2 separate regions of the Homo sapiens genome follow, and region 2 is linked to region 1. Evidence: promoter capture Hi-C in human tissues and cell types (Jung and others, 2019). All regions are on one chromosome and are shown on one strand. The core of a region is centred on a gene start or on the middle of the fragment in contact, and the rest is flanking DNA. Distances in the headings are between cores, read along the strand shown.

Region 1 (7,260 bases), core at 2,674-5,173:
AAGGCGGGCGGATCACGAGGTCAGGAGATTGAGAACATCCTGGCTAACACGGTGAAATCCCGTCTCTACTAAAAATACAAAAAATTAGCCGGGCGTGGTGGCAGGCGCCTGTAGTCCCAGCTACTCGGGAGGCTGAGGCAGGAGAATGGCGTGAACCCAGGAGGCGGAGCTTGCAGTGAACCAAGATCATGCCACTGCACTCCAGCCTGGGTGACAGAGTGAGACTCCGCCTCAAAAACAAACAAATAAGCAAAAAACCGACTAAACCCTAAGGAGATACCACTACATACCCACTAAAATGGCTAAAATTAAAGACTGAGCAAACAACACCACATACTGGTGAGGATGTGGACCAATTGTTATTCTAATATATTGTTAATGGAAGTGTAAAATGGTACAACCACTTTGGAAAATGGTCTGGAAATTTCTTAAAAAGCTAAACACATAACTATGTTACAGTCCATCAACTCCACTCGAGTATTTACCCACGAAAATTTGTTTCCCTCCAAAAACCTGAAGAATATTCAACGTAGTTGTAAACAAAATACATAACTTTTTATTTTATTTTCTTGTAATTTTTTAAAATACGGAGCTTTTTTTTTCTTTTTTCTTTTTTTTTGAGACGGAGTCTCGCTCTGTTGCCCAAGCTGGAGTGCAATGGCGTGATCTCAGCTCACTGCAATCTCCACCTCCTGGGTTCAAGGGATTCTCCTGCCTCAGCCTCCCTTGTAGCTGGGATTACAGGCACCTGCCACCATGCCCAGCTACTTTTTTGGTATTTTTAGTAGAGATGGGGTTTCACCATGTTGGTCAGGCTGGTTTCAAACTCCTGACCTCAGGTGATCTACCCGCCTCGGCCTCCCAAAGTGCTGGGATTACAGACGTGAGCCACTGCGCCCGGCCTAAAATACAGAACTTCCAAACACACAATGCACTAATATCCAGTAATAAAAATGAACACATTACTGATACACTTCACAATGTGGATGAATCTCAAAAACATGTAACTAAAAGAAGTTTTACGCAAAAATACTTTGTGATTCCAAATATATGAAATTCTAGCGCAGGCAAAATTCATTTCTGGTGGAAGAAACTGGTTGCATCTAGGGGTATGGAGCCAGAGGTTGCCTGGGAAAGGCTTGAGGAAACTGTCTGAGGTTTTGGTAATGTTACTTCTGTTGATATGGGTTTAGGTTACAAAAGTGTTTACATTTTTCAATAGCAGGAAATATACACTGCATTTCATTGTATAAGATATTTACCTTAAAGAAGGAAAACAAAAATCCATGAGTGGGATAAAAAGGGCCTGAACTTAATGGTGGTGACTGGAATGAAAGGCTACTATGGGCAGGACAAATACACAATTATCCCTCCCTAACTGAGCCCAGGAACCAAATGGATTCAAATTATTTTCAGATGAATCTTTCACTGTCTGAATTCTTTCCACTTAGTGAAACTTGGATATCAAATAGTAACACAGTGTCCCTCAGTATAAAACACACTATTTGAACCCAAAAACCAAACAGGATAATGTGGGTCACTTTTATGAAGTAGGTAAAACTGGCAAAATTGGCAATGTATCAAATGTCAAGGACATCAGGAGAGAAAAAGTCAAGCTCACCTCCCAGGTTTTTGGTTAGGGTGACAGTGAGAATAAGGATGACAATGCTGCCAACTGAGATACAGAAATAAATCTACTGAAAATGCAAACCAGTTAGTCAAACAATCATTTTCTGGAGGAAAAATACATTCTCTGGTAAGAAAAAAAATTTGTTTCTATATTTTACCTAAGACACAAAACAGGATTCAGTACAGGTATTAAAAATTACTGGAAAATTGTCATAACATGCAGTATCTTTAAAGGGAACAAATGGAATCCAAGGTGTATTACACAAAATTGAACTATGAGTGGATTAAGATTCAGATTGGCAGGTATGGAGAAATTTCAAAAAATGTAATTTTCTTTTTTTGAGACCGAGTCTCACTCTGTTGCCCAGGCTGGAGTGCAGTGGTGCGATCTCAGCTCACTGCAACCTCCCAGGATCAAGTGATCCTCTTACCTCAGCCTCCTGAGTAGCTGGGATTACAGGCGCCCGCCACCATGCCCGGCTAATTTTTGTATTTTTTCGAAAGAATGGGTTTCACCACGTTGGCCAGGCAGGTCCTGAACTCCTGACCTCAGGCGATCCGCCTGCCTCAGCCTCCCAAAGTGTTGGGATTACAGGCGTGAGCCACCACGTCCAGCCTAAAAAATGCACTTTAAATTCTATGACTTCCTATCCAAAGTTATAGTTCAAATAAAAATATACCAAAAATTAACCTTAAATGTCTTTTGTACCAACTCCTCCCTGAATATAATTTTTTTTTTTTTTTTTTTTTTTTGAGATGGAGTCTCGCTCTGTCGCCCAGGCTGGAGCGTAGTGCCACGATATCGGCTCACTGCAACCTCTGCCGCCTGGGTTCAAGCGATTCTCCTGCCTCAGCCTCCTGAGTAGCTGGGATTAAAGGCGCGCGCCACCACGCCCCACTAACTTTTGTAATTTTCGTAGAGACGGGGTTTCACCATGTTGGTCAGGCTGGTCTCGAACTCCTGACCTAGTGATCCACCCGCCTTGGCCTCCCAAAGTGCTGGGATTACAGACGTGAGCCACTGCGCCTGGCCTCCTCCCTGAGTGTTGAAGGCTTTTATGTGTTATTTAAAACGTTTCAAACAAACGTTACTTCAGACGTTATCTACTTGTCTGTCATCCCCACTAACCAGAAAACTCCAACAAGGCAGGTACTCTGCCTTTTAAAAAATCCTATTACCAGCGCCTAGTATGTAACAGGTGCCCAATAACTATTTAGCGGATATTGACAATCCTTGACTCAACAGGAAAAAAACAAGCTAAATATTTATAATTGCTGGCTTAGCTATTAGAAACGTCTGCCTCTGTTCCAGGCTTAGTCTCAAGGAAAAACACCAAAACCAAATCTACTTGCAGGTAGTTTAGAATTATTCACATCAGCAAACAAGTTTTCAGAAGACTCACCTAACTGACAGGGTCTATTTATTTCTTAAGAAATAAAACAGGAGAACTATATATTATCTGAGTAATCAGCCACAATTACGTTGTGATAATTTCTGCCCTATATTGGGAGATTTTCCTAAATAAAAAGCCTACCTTAAAGGGAAATAGAGGTGGAATAATCAATCACAAATCTAAGGAGGATAAAAAGGTAAACTTAAAAATCGGCCGGGCACGGTGGCTCAAACCTGTAATCTCAGCCCTTTGGAAGGGCGAGGCGGGCAGAAAGCTTGAGCCCAGGAGTTCGAGACCAGCCTGGTCAACAAAGTGAGACACCATCTTTATTTAAAAAAACAAAAACTTGTGAAGCCGGAAGTCCTTCTCTGATTTAAAATATTTTGCAAACAGGTTTGTTTCCAGATAAGCTCATACAGCTTTCTAAGTACTGTTAAGCAGGACTGGGGAGTTCCACTCAAAAAGAAAATGAGTAACTGTAAGAGGGAGATGTGTCCCAGGAGGCGCTGCATCTTTAAAGCCTCTAAGTCACTAGGCAGGAAGAAAAGGCTCGGCCTTTATACCAATCTCTTGGAAGACACGCGGGATCCGCGAGCGACCCAGGCGGAAGCCCAGGCCCGAGCACGAGCTGCGGGCGCAGTAAGGCCGGCCGTTAGCAGGCCGCGCACACGCGGCTTTCCCGCCTCCTGCAAATGGGAGAGCCCAGCCTTCCGGACTCCGGGCCAAGCCCTCCCTTCACAGCCCCCAGAGCTGCTTGGTCACTCCCTCACCTCACGAGCTTCATCCTAGCGGCGCCGTCACCCTCTGGGTCCGACAGCACACAGAATCCTTCAACCGAACACTGACCGACTGCAGTATGAATGGCCGGAAGCGCCTACTCCAGGGGCTCCGGACGTCAAGAGCGCGCGGAGCACTGCAGGCGCATGGCGGAAACGCCGAGGCTGCGCTGGGCCGCACTCTCTTCCGGCCGCGAGGAGCGCGACTGCGGCCCCTGGCGGCTGGAGGTTGCCTTGCGACGGCTGAGGGTATCGAGGGCTGGTCTTGGAGAAAAATGTCCTACAAGAGAGGGAGATTCGAAGAGATTAAATCCAATTAATAGGACTGTCGCATTTTGGGAGGCCGAAGCGGGGGTATCACCTGAGGTCAGGAGTTCAAGACCAGCCTGGCCAACAGGGTGAAACCCCCGTCTCTACTAAAAAGACAAAAAATTAGCTGGGCGTGGTGGCGGGCGCATGTAATCCCAGCTACTCGGAAGGCTGAGGCAGGGGAATCGCTTGAACCCGGGAGGCGGAGGCTGCAGTGAGCGGAGATCGCACCACTACACTCCTGCCTGGGCAACAAGAACGAAACTCCGTCTCCCAAAAAAAAAAAAAAAAAAAAAAAGTACTGTCACCATCACGTTTCTGAACAGCAGGGCACTGTGAGTGCAGCACCTAATACAAATTCCTCACTGAACGGAAAGAAGGTCTTAGAGAAGCCCAAAGTCTTATGCTGATTCTGTTCCAACACCAGGAACCTAGCATTGCTTACTGTACCTGAAGCAAATCACACAATGGGCCAGGCGCTGTGGCTCAAGCCTGTAATTCCAGCACTTTGGGAGGCCGAGGCGGGCAGATAGCGAGGTCAAGAGATCGAGACCATTCTGGCCAACATGGTGAAACCCCGCCTCTACTAAAAATACAAAAATTAGCGGGGCGTGGTGATGCGCGCCTGTAGTCCCAGCTATTCGGGAGGCTGAGGCAGGAGAATCGCTTGAACCCAGGAGGTGGAGGTTGCAGTGAGCTGAGATCGTGCCACTGCACTCCAGCCTGGCAACAGAGCGAGACTCCGTCTCAAAAAATAATAATAATAAAAATAAAATCCACAATGTAGCAGATTATTTTCACTTTAAGTTCCAATCTATAAGACAAACTTTTCAGTCTTCATCTTTCTCAACATCTCATCAAAATATATATATTTTTTATTTTTTTGAGATGGAGTCTCACTCTGTCGCCCAGGCCGGAGTGCAGTAGCGCGATCTCAGCTCACTGCAACCCTTGCCTCCCGGTTTCAAGCCATTCTCGTGCCTCAGCCTCTCCAGTAACTGAGATTACAGGCGCGCATCACCATGGCCCGCTAATTATCGTCTTTTTATGTATGTATGTATGTACGTACGTATGTATGTATTTTGAGACAGAGTCTCCCTCTGTCGCCCAGGCTGTAGTGCAGTGGCGCGATCTCGGCTCACTGCAAGCTCCGCCTTCCGGGTTCACGCTATTCTCCTGCCTCGGCCTCCCAAGTAGCTGGGACTACAGGCGCCAGCCACCACGCCCGGCTAATTTTTTTGTATTTTTAGTAGAGACGGGGTTAGCCAGGATGGTTTCGATCTCCTGACCTCGTGATCCGCCCGCCTCGGCCTCCCAAAGTGCTGGGATTATAGGCGTGAGCCACCGCGCCCGGCATTATTGTCTCTTTAGTATGTGAGCTTCATCAAAATTTAACACAAACACTCCCCTTCCCTCTTTCGGGTTTCAGGATGCCAAGCTCACCTGGCCTTTTTCCTTATCCTACTAACTACTCTTGCTTTGTTTTGTTTTGTTTATAGACAGGGTTTCTCGCTCTGTTGCCCAGGCAGGAGTGCAATGGCACAATCAGGGCTCACTGCAGCCTTGACCGTCTGGGCTCAAGCTATCCTCCTGCCTCAGCCTTCTCAGTAGCTGGGACCACAAGTGCGTGCCACCATGCCCAGCTAATATTTTATTTTTTATTTCGTAGAGAAGAGGTCTTACTATGTTGCCCAGGCTAGTATCCAACTCCTGGGCTCAAGAGATTCCACTGCCGTGGCCTCCCAAAGTACTGGGTTTACAGGCCCAGAGCCTCCATGCCCAGCCTCTAACTACTCTTTCTAAATCTCCTTAGCTGGTTCCTCCTTCCCTATGGAGCCAATACATGTCACAGTGTTTCCCGGCTTGTGGCTGTAGTCTTTTTATGTATACTTTTTCTTTTAACCTGGTAATCTCCTCCAAAACCATGACTTTGATTTGTATCTCTAGCCTAGACTTCATCGCTGATCAACAGAACTCTTAGATATTGTAAGACAATACTTATCGGCTGGGCATGGTGGCTCATGCCTGTAATCTCAGCACTTTGGGAGGCCGAGATGGGCAGATCATGAGGTCAAGAGATCGAGACCATCCTGGCCAACATGGTGAAACCTCGTCTCCACTAAAAATACAAAAATTAGCTGGGCGTGGTGGCGCATGCCTGTAGTCCCAGCTACTTGGGAGGCTGAGTCCCAGCTACTCGGGAGGCTGAGGCAGAAGAATTGCTTGAACCCGGGAGGCGGAGGTTGCAGTGAGTGGAGATTGTGCCACTGCGCTCCAGCCTGGGCGACAGAGCAAGACTCCGTCTCAAAAAATAATAATAATAATAAAAATTAAAAAAAATAAAGTTTCCCCAGGTGAGTCCTACACACATTAAACTTTGATAAATATTGCCCTTTTTTTGTTGTTTGAGACTGACTTGCCACGCCTGGCCAAAACTTTATATTTATTTATTTATTTATTTATTTATTTTTGAGATGGAGTTTCACTCTTGTTGCCCAAGCCGGAGTGCAATGGCACGATCTCAGCTCACTGCAACCTCTGCCTCCTGGGTTCAAATGATTCTCCTGCCTAAGTCTCCTGAGTAGATGGGATTACAGGCACTCACTACTGCGCCCAGCTAATTTTTTGTATTTTTAGTAGAAATGGGGTTTCACCATGTTAGCTCGGCTGGTCTCGAACTCCTGACCTCAGATGATCCATCCACCTTGGCCTCCCAAAGTGCTGGGATTTCAGGCTTGAGCCACCACGCCCAGCCTGGAAACTTTAAAATGAAAATCTGATTCAATCGTTGTGGGGCCTGAAATTCTGCAGTTCTAACAAGCCTTCAGTTGATGAAGCTGCCCCTACTCTATACACATCAATTTGAGTAGCAAGGCTAAAACGGATATTTGTGTGTTGCCTTCTCAACATCTATTCCCTTGTCTTTCCAAATGTTTCTAATATTCTTCTTGTGATCCTTGTGGTCCTAAGAAAGCTGACTCTACCCTTTTAATACTCCATTCCATTACTTGTTCACAGTAGGTTTGGGATCTAAGTTGATCCAATTGGACCTTTAGAGGGAATGTTCTTTTCTTTTGTTGTGAATGGAAAGGGAGTAACCCCTGGAGCTGTTGGGAACTTCCTTACAACCAGGAGAAGAACCAATTTCAGGA
Region 2 (7,260 bases), core at 390-2,889, 160 kb after region 1:
GACCCAGTCTCTACAAAAAATTAAAAAATTAGCCAGGCATGGTGGCACATGTCTGTAGTCCAAGCTGCTTGGGAGGCTGAAGTGGGAGGATCGCTTGAGCCCGTGAAGAGGGGTGGTGTCAAGCAGTGAGCTATAATCACGCTACTGCACTCCAGCCTGGGCGATAGAGTGCAACACTGTAAAAAAAAAAAAAAAAAAAAAAAAAAAAAAGGAAGGAAGGAAAGAAGGAAGGGAGGGAAGGAGGAAGGAAGGAACGAACGAACAAACCGAGTTCCAGGGAGAGAGAAACTCGCCCAAGGTCACTCAACAAGGTTGTGGCTGAGCTGAGACTTTTGAATCCAGTACCAATGGGCCTTCCTCTAGACCCCCTTACTGCTTCCTGTGGTGTTAGTGACAAAATACTTAGGATAAACCATTTCAAATGAAAGATCAGCTGGCAAGCTTGAGCTCCACACTCATCTTGACAGGCTAAGATTTAAACTCAGAAAATCATACAACTAGGGGCTGCCAGTGTTGCCAAATCTTACAACCACTCACCTAATGATGTGGTTTTGAAATGTGATGCCAGGAAACTGACCTTTCCTGTGATAAGCTCATAACTAATTTCTTTCAAAAACTCACTTGTGGTGAGCATGCTCTCTGCCAGAGCTCGGGACTGGTGCTGACCTGCAGGATGGAGGAGAGAAGAGAAGACTCATCAACAGAACAAATGTTGCTGGAACATTACTTATAATGGCAACAATTGGAAACAATCAAAGGATGTCACTATAGGGACTTGGGTTAAGAAAATTATGACACATCAAAAGGTATGGACAATTATATAGCATTTGAAATATCAATTCTGACTCTAGACAGAAACAGAAATGTTTATAATACAGATGATCAGGGGAACAAAATGATGTACCTTATGTAACTGAAAATATGCACGTTTGTGTTTAATGACTAAGGAAGGTCCCTGTCCCCGCCAGGGGCTGTGAGCAACACCATGGCTGCCCCAGGGCTGGCCAATTGGGCAGATGCCCAGGGGCTGAGAACATGGGGGAAAAACAGACTAGGGAAGAGTATGAAAAACCTTATAAAAATTGTGCTTGCATGGTTATAATGAATTTGCTTTAAAAATATAAACATGTTTTTTACAAATAAAAATGAAAAAATATTAATGTATCACACTGATGAAGCTTTCTGGAAATACATGTAGCACAGAAAAATGGGCAGACAGGTTTTGTCAAAGTGAGGGGGTTTTCTTAGCTTCTTTGCTGGAAGAGGTGAGAGCCATTCAGTACAGAGAAGAGAGAAGCAAAATGTAGTCCAAATGGCTACCCAAGAGGGTGCCTGATAGAAAATCTGCACAGTGCAAAACAAACAAACAAAAATCCCCTCCCACCCCCCAATTTTGTAGTGTACCAACTTTCTGAATCTTTTCTTTAGAGACTATGTTACAATATTAAATAGACTGTTCAGTGAGAAGGGGAATATATGAGCTAATTTTCTGGCAAATTCGATTAACTGGCTTAGGCCACCTGTGGCACTGGCTTTATCACATGCTAGAGTAGTAACATTTCCAAAATCTTTAAAGGACAGCAGTTACATGAGACAGGGGTATCTGTTACTAGGGAGAGCTTTGAAATAATGCTCCCACAACCAGCTGACAGGGGCACCAGCCAAACTGAGGGCTACACAAAACCTGATCTGAGAAGGAAAGGGAAAGTTAAAATTAGGAGGATGAGCCCAAGCTCCAGCAATTAATCAGAGGTTGATTATGTGGATGCCTGAAACACATAACACACATTTTTAAATGGAAAAATGGTCGAATGAATTGATTAAACAAACAAAAAACAAAAAAATTACTCACCTAACACTACCACACAAAATTCATTTCCTCTGATTTTCGATGCACAAATTACCACCACATAATCTGGCAGCCTTTGATAGTGTCTCATTTCACTGAGAGTCCTTAAGGTCTCTGAAATGCCCTCCGCCAAAGAGTTCTGGGTCACAACCACATGAACCAAGTCTTGAGATACGCTGGCAATTAATCTAGCAAGCCAGGGGAGTTGTCCTGGTGACACAGGGACACACTGAGCACCTATCTGCAGGGCTCTTTCTCTCAGAGTAAATTCTTGCATAGCTTTCAGCATAATTTGCTCAAATTCTTCCCTGAGAGGTACCTGATCAGGACCTATATAGAAGAGAATTACAGCTGGAATTTAAAGAATCACAGGGAGGAGAGACACACACACCCATATGCTTTCCTGCAGTCCTTCTCAGCCCATCATACATACTCCAACTAGAAAATAACCTCTTTTTCTTGGAGTGGTCACAAGTATAGAGTCCCTACTAATCATTCCCTGTTGGAAATTATTTTTCTTTCTGCCTCAATCTTTGTAAAAAAAATCAGGCTTCTGTTTTTCTGTATTCCTGATCTCTTTAAAAGAGGAGGTACCAAGAGAAACCATTAATTCCACTGTATGCCCTCGGAGCTGGTCCTTGCACATGGCATATTTCTTGACCTATTAAGCTTGGCATTATAGAAATTGTTAATGACTAATGAAAAAAGAAGCCAACCTACTGGTATATAACCGATTTTAAGTTTCAGTTCTCATTTTAGTCATAGGCATTTTGGAAAACATTTTAATGTGTTGCTTCTAAGCCTAATTTTGAGAATACTGTGCAGGAAATGAAGTTTAATTATTTTTCACTCCCAAGTGATATTGGAGGCAGCCTCACATTTTTCCCAGATAGAGAACGCTTTCATGATCTAGTTATTCCCCAGCATTCTGGATTGTTAAATATGCCATTTGGCCCTCTTCTCCAACCAGTTGGAGCAAAACTTATACTGCTGACCTGTGGCCCCTGGAATCAGGGGGATTTTCTTCCTTATTCTCTTTAGAAACTCAACCAGCCTTTAGAACAAAATAAGCAAGTCAATGTTTGGTATCCAAATGACACAAATGAACTAAGATTTCAACATTTAGTTTAAATTGAAAGCAGTGAGAATACAGTCACTCCCTCTATTCAATCATTTCTTTTGCTGTGTGAACCCAATATTTGAAACTCAGGCTCCCATAAACCAGCTCAGACACCTCAGTGTCTGTGATCTGAGACCAAGCAACAGCCCCAGAACCCATGGCTAAAAGCCCCTTATGGAAGAACAAAGGGGTGATGGGCTGGACTTCTGCATGAGAAGGAGGCACCACAAATGAGTCAGACCCATTCCTTCCTCTAATAGGGATCTAAGTGGTTTCTCTGGCCCTTCCCATCTTTTCTGGGAAAGTAAGAAAATGAGGTGTTTAGTAATGCTCTTCAGATATGGAAAATTAAATAAAATCTTATACATTATAAAAACAACAATTTTAATTGGAGAAAACAGTTTTTCCAGGATTGGGTGGAGGCCAGGGAGAGGTAGGAGAGTAGAATTCTCATAAACAGATTTTTCTCCTCTATACATGGAAACAGGGCAAGAAAATGGTAATGTATACATTATGTCTGTGTTTCTTCTATGCTGCTGCTGCTGCTTTTTTTTTTTTTTGAGACAGTTTCCCTTTGTCATCCAGGCTGGAGTGCAGTGGCGCGATCTCGGCTCACTGCAACCTCCACCTCCTGGCCTCAAGCAATTCTCCTGTCTCAGCCTCCGGAGTATCTGGGATTACAGGCATGCCCAACATGCCTGGCTAATTTTTGTATTTTTGATAGAGATGGGGTTTCACCATGTTGGCCAGACTGCTCTCAAACTCCTGACCTCAAGTATCCACCCTATTCAGCCTCCCAAAGTGTTGGGATTACAGGTGTGAGCCACCGTGCCTGGCCTCTACTGTCCTCAAAAAACTTGCTGGGAATGTGGAGGGATGCTCTTTAAAAAAAAATCACCTAGGAGCCACCAAGATGTCTGATCTTCATTCAGCTTTATCAAATTGGCATCATGGTTAATTGTCACTAGGTAAACACTTTTCAGTGAGCTCAAAGTGGATAGAAGGTGGTCATTTATTTAACGCTTTCTTCCACCAGAACATGACAGCTGAAAAGCAGGTGGCCCTGGCTGTCTCCAATTCCCTACCGTCTTTCATTAACAACCTGAAAGCTCAGGGGCCTGGTTAGTAGTCCATAAGACTCACTCCAGGACTAAGTAACATATTCTATCAGGAGGCATAATTAATTGAAAGCACAAAGGCATTCTGGGAAAATAAAATTACTAAACATGTTCACAACATCCTTTGTTGCCTTAAAGCTCGCTTTTATACAGTTTTGACTGATGTACAATTAGGAATCAAGAAGTGGAGGAAAAGGTATTAAGTTTAAATGAGGTAAGAGACTTCTTAGAGTAAAATGCCTTGTTTCCAAAAATCAACTATCACTTTTTCATCCTCAGCCTTTTAAAAAAATTTTTTTTTTAAATTTTTTTAATTAGAGACAGGGTCTCTGTCTGTCTGCCAGGCTGGAGTACAGTGGCACAATCATAGCTCACTGCAGTTCTGAACTTCTGGGCTCAAGTGATCCTTCTGCCTCAGCCTCCCAAGGTGCTGAGATTACAAGCGTGAGCCACCACACCCAGTACCTCATCCTCAGCCTTTACAATTACATTGCAGGTGTCTTTTCTCCACTTTCGCAAGCTTGATAACAATAATCTTTTCCTTCAAGTGCTGATCTCCAATAACTTAGGTTAGCTGAGGTATCAGTTTTAATGACTTTTCAGAAAGAACTACCTTAATAGGAAAAGTCAAGGTTTAAATAGACTCAGAGCCTTACAAGAATCTCTGGATTTGCTGATTTCATTATCTACTTCAAAGATTTTCTGACTGTGAAATGACTGAGATTTTTTAAAAGTGACTGTAGTGAAGAGGTATGGTTCCTTCTGAAGAATCTTGCTTTTCTTCTTCTCTGATACCTCTAAGTAACTGAGCCGCTGAAGTATTAAAAATCCTTTTAGAAGTTTAGATTTATTTTTTTAAATGTCTATAATCTATGCCATATGTGAAACTATTCTTGCTTGCCTTCTTGAAACCTCCAGAGGCAAGAAATAAAGAAATAAATAAATAATAAATAAATAAAGGACTCCAGAACAGTTGTTGAGGGATAGAGATGTCTCAATGTACAAAGCTTAGGTTTTAAAAGAGAAATAGCTATTCATGTATATCGAGAGGCCTAACTGATTGACTGCAAGTCAAATTCAGGAAAGAACTGATCCTGCAGGTCAGAGAAGAATCTGTGTAATTAAATTGAAATTGTTTCTTTTTTTCTTTTCTTTTCTTTTTCTTTACAAAAGATAAGAGCATTTAGTACTTTAAGAAAAGATATCTTATTTTGACCACTTGGTTCATTTAATTAAATTAGACTCCGATTTTAAAAATTGCTATTAAGATTGAAAAGGAGGCCGGGCGTGGTGACTCATGCCTGTAATCCCAACTTTGGGAGCCCAAGGCAGGTGGATCACCTGAGATCAGGAGTTTGAGACCAGCCTGGCCAACATGGTGAAACCCTGTCTCTACTAAAAATACAAAAATTAGCAGGGTGTGGTGGTTCACGCCTGTAGTCCCAGCTACTCGGGAGGCTGAGACATGAGAATTGCTTGAACATGGGAGGTGGTGGTTGCAGTGAGTCGAGATCGCACCACTGCACTCCAGCCTGGGAAACAGAGTGAGACTCGGTCTCAAAACAAACAAACAAATAATCAAACAAACAAACAAACTGAAAAAGAGTGCTATAGTGATTTTCTTGGTTGGCTATATCATCACTTTATGAAGCCTGGTTTTACTAATTCTGGGTGCATTTAGAAGTTGGCTTTAGATCTTAGAACACAGTCTATAATCTAATTTCAGTATGTAGCAATTAAAATTATGTCATCAAATGAGCTGTGGACCCAGATGAGCTTTATAATTGTATTACCTTTCAATAAGCATCATTAGTAAGTCCTAGGTTTATCATGAAATTGGTGCCTTGTAAATTTCAAAAGGCCATGTCGAAGCAGAGGCCAAGTCAAGGCAGCCTCTCAGGGCACAGAGTTCTAGTCAAGATTGCTAGCTAATGCACCAAACACTGAATATGCCCTAATAAAGCTTTTTTCTTTCTTTTAAAGTTATTTAGTCCAGTGTTTTTATTATCTCCTAACACTGAAGTATTTTCTAAAATTAAAAAATTTCACAAGAGTGCATACTAATATTTTTATGTGTAATTTTACATCTCAAATATTTTTTTCTTTTCTTTTCTTTTCTTTTTTTTTGAGATGGAGTTTCACTCTTGTTGCCCAAGCTGGAGTGCAATGACGTGATCTGGGCTCACTGCAACCTCCGCCTCCCGGGTTCAAGCAATTCTTTTGCCTCAGCCTCCTGAGTAGCTGGGATTACAGGCATGCGCCACCACGCCCAGCTAATTTTGTATTTTTAGTAGAGATGGGGTTTCTCCATGTTGGTCAGGCTGGTCTCGAACTCCCCACCTCAGGTGATCCGCCCACCTTGGCCTCCCAAAGTGTTGGGATCACGGGCGTGAGCCACCGTGCCCGGCCACATCTCAAATATTTTTCTAAGTAAATCAGTGGCTTGAAGTGATAGAGTGAGTGTATAATTAGATGGCCTACTGCCATTTGCAAAATAAAGGACATTTCGATGTAAATGCTGCTAAGCCACTCTAGTATTGTCAGGGCACCTGCATACACCCACTTTGGGGCTTCGGAGAATATATCAGATAGAGGAAGTGAAGGGTTCATGACCTACATATCCCCCTTACCCTATAGCTTAAAGACCTTCCAGGGAGGTCCACAGTTATGACCTCAATGATGGAAAGCACGATGGGACTCCATCAAAGGGGTGTAGCTGGAGAAGAAAAAAAATGGGTGTAGGGCCAGTGGATAAACAAGATAAAAAGGCTAAGTGGAAAACTGGAAAATAATTGTTTAAGACAATGGCTGTGTTTGCACTCCAGATGGTAGGTGCACTTTCAGAAAGGTGGCCTGGCCAAGCTCCCCAGAGAAGGGGTGCTCAAGGCACAACCCTTTAAGGTTCTGCCTACCTTAACTACTTTGGAGACCTTTGCAGCATCATGAGACTGGACACTAGGTGGTGCAATTCATCTCCTCTAGGACCCAAAGAAGAGGAAAGGAAAGGAGTAGAAAAGAAATGAAGGAGAGGAAAGGGAAAAGTTACAGAGAATGGGGTTGAAGGGAAAGAACATTAGAAGCGAAAGAGGGAAAATAAGAGATAGGAGGATAAATGTGAGAAAGAAAGAAAAAGTACATCACAAAAAATCCTCAAAAGTAGTCACCAGCAAATG

Evidence for each region. Contacts are between HindIII fragments. The study calls those that stand out against the background at their distance.
Region 2: a contact is called between a fragment that was not itself captured here and the fragment with the promoter of SNRPD1 in region 1, in 3 of the 25 tissues and cell types used here (aorta, heart right ventricle and mesenchymal stem cells).

The regions. Positions count from the first base shown.
Region 1 is chr18:21,608,977-21,616,236 of GRCh38, reverse strand. It overlaps SNRPD1 (small nuclear ribonucleoprotein D1 polypeptide), which reads right to left and starts at 3,923. Exons shown (of 4, transcript NM_006938.4): 1 at 3,794-3,923. The coding sequence starts at 3,807. RefSeq lists an enhancer at 3,775-3,864 and a silencer at 4,125-4,174. The HindIII fragment of the contact is 13,798 bases long and covers 1-7,260 here.
Region 2 is chr18:21,444,429-21,451,688 of GRCh38, reverse strand. It overlaps GREB1L (GREB1 like retinoic acid receptor coactivator), which reads right to left. Exons shown (of 33, transcript NM_001142966.3): 12 at 1,853-2,179; 13 at 538-666. It overlaps GREB1L-AS1 (GREB1L antisense RNA 1), which reads left to right and starts at 642. Exons shown (of 4, transcript NR_187982.1): 1 at 642-806. It overlaps LOC124900410 (small nucleolar RNA SNORD23), which reads left to right and starts at 933; the gene lies at 933-1,036. The HindIII fragment of the contact is 3,848 bases long and covers 1-3,563 here.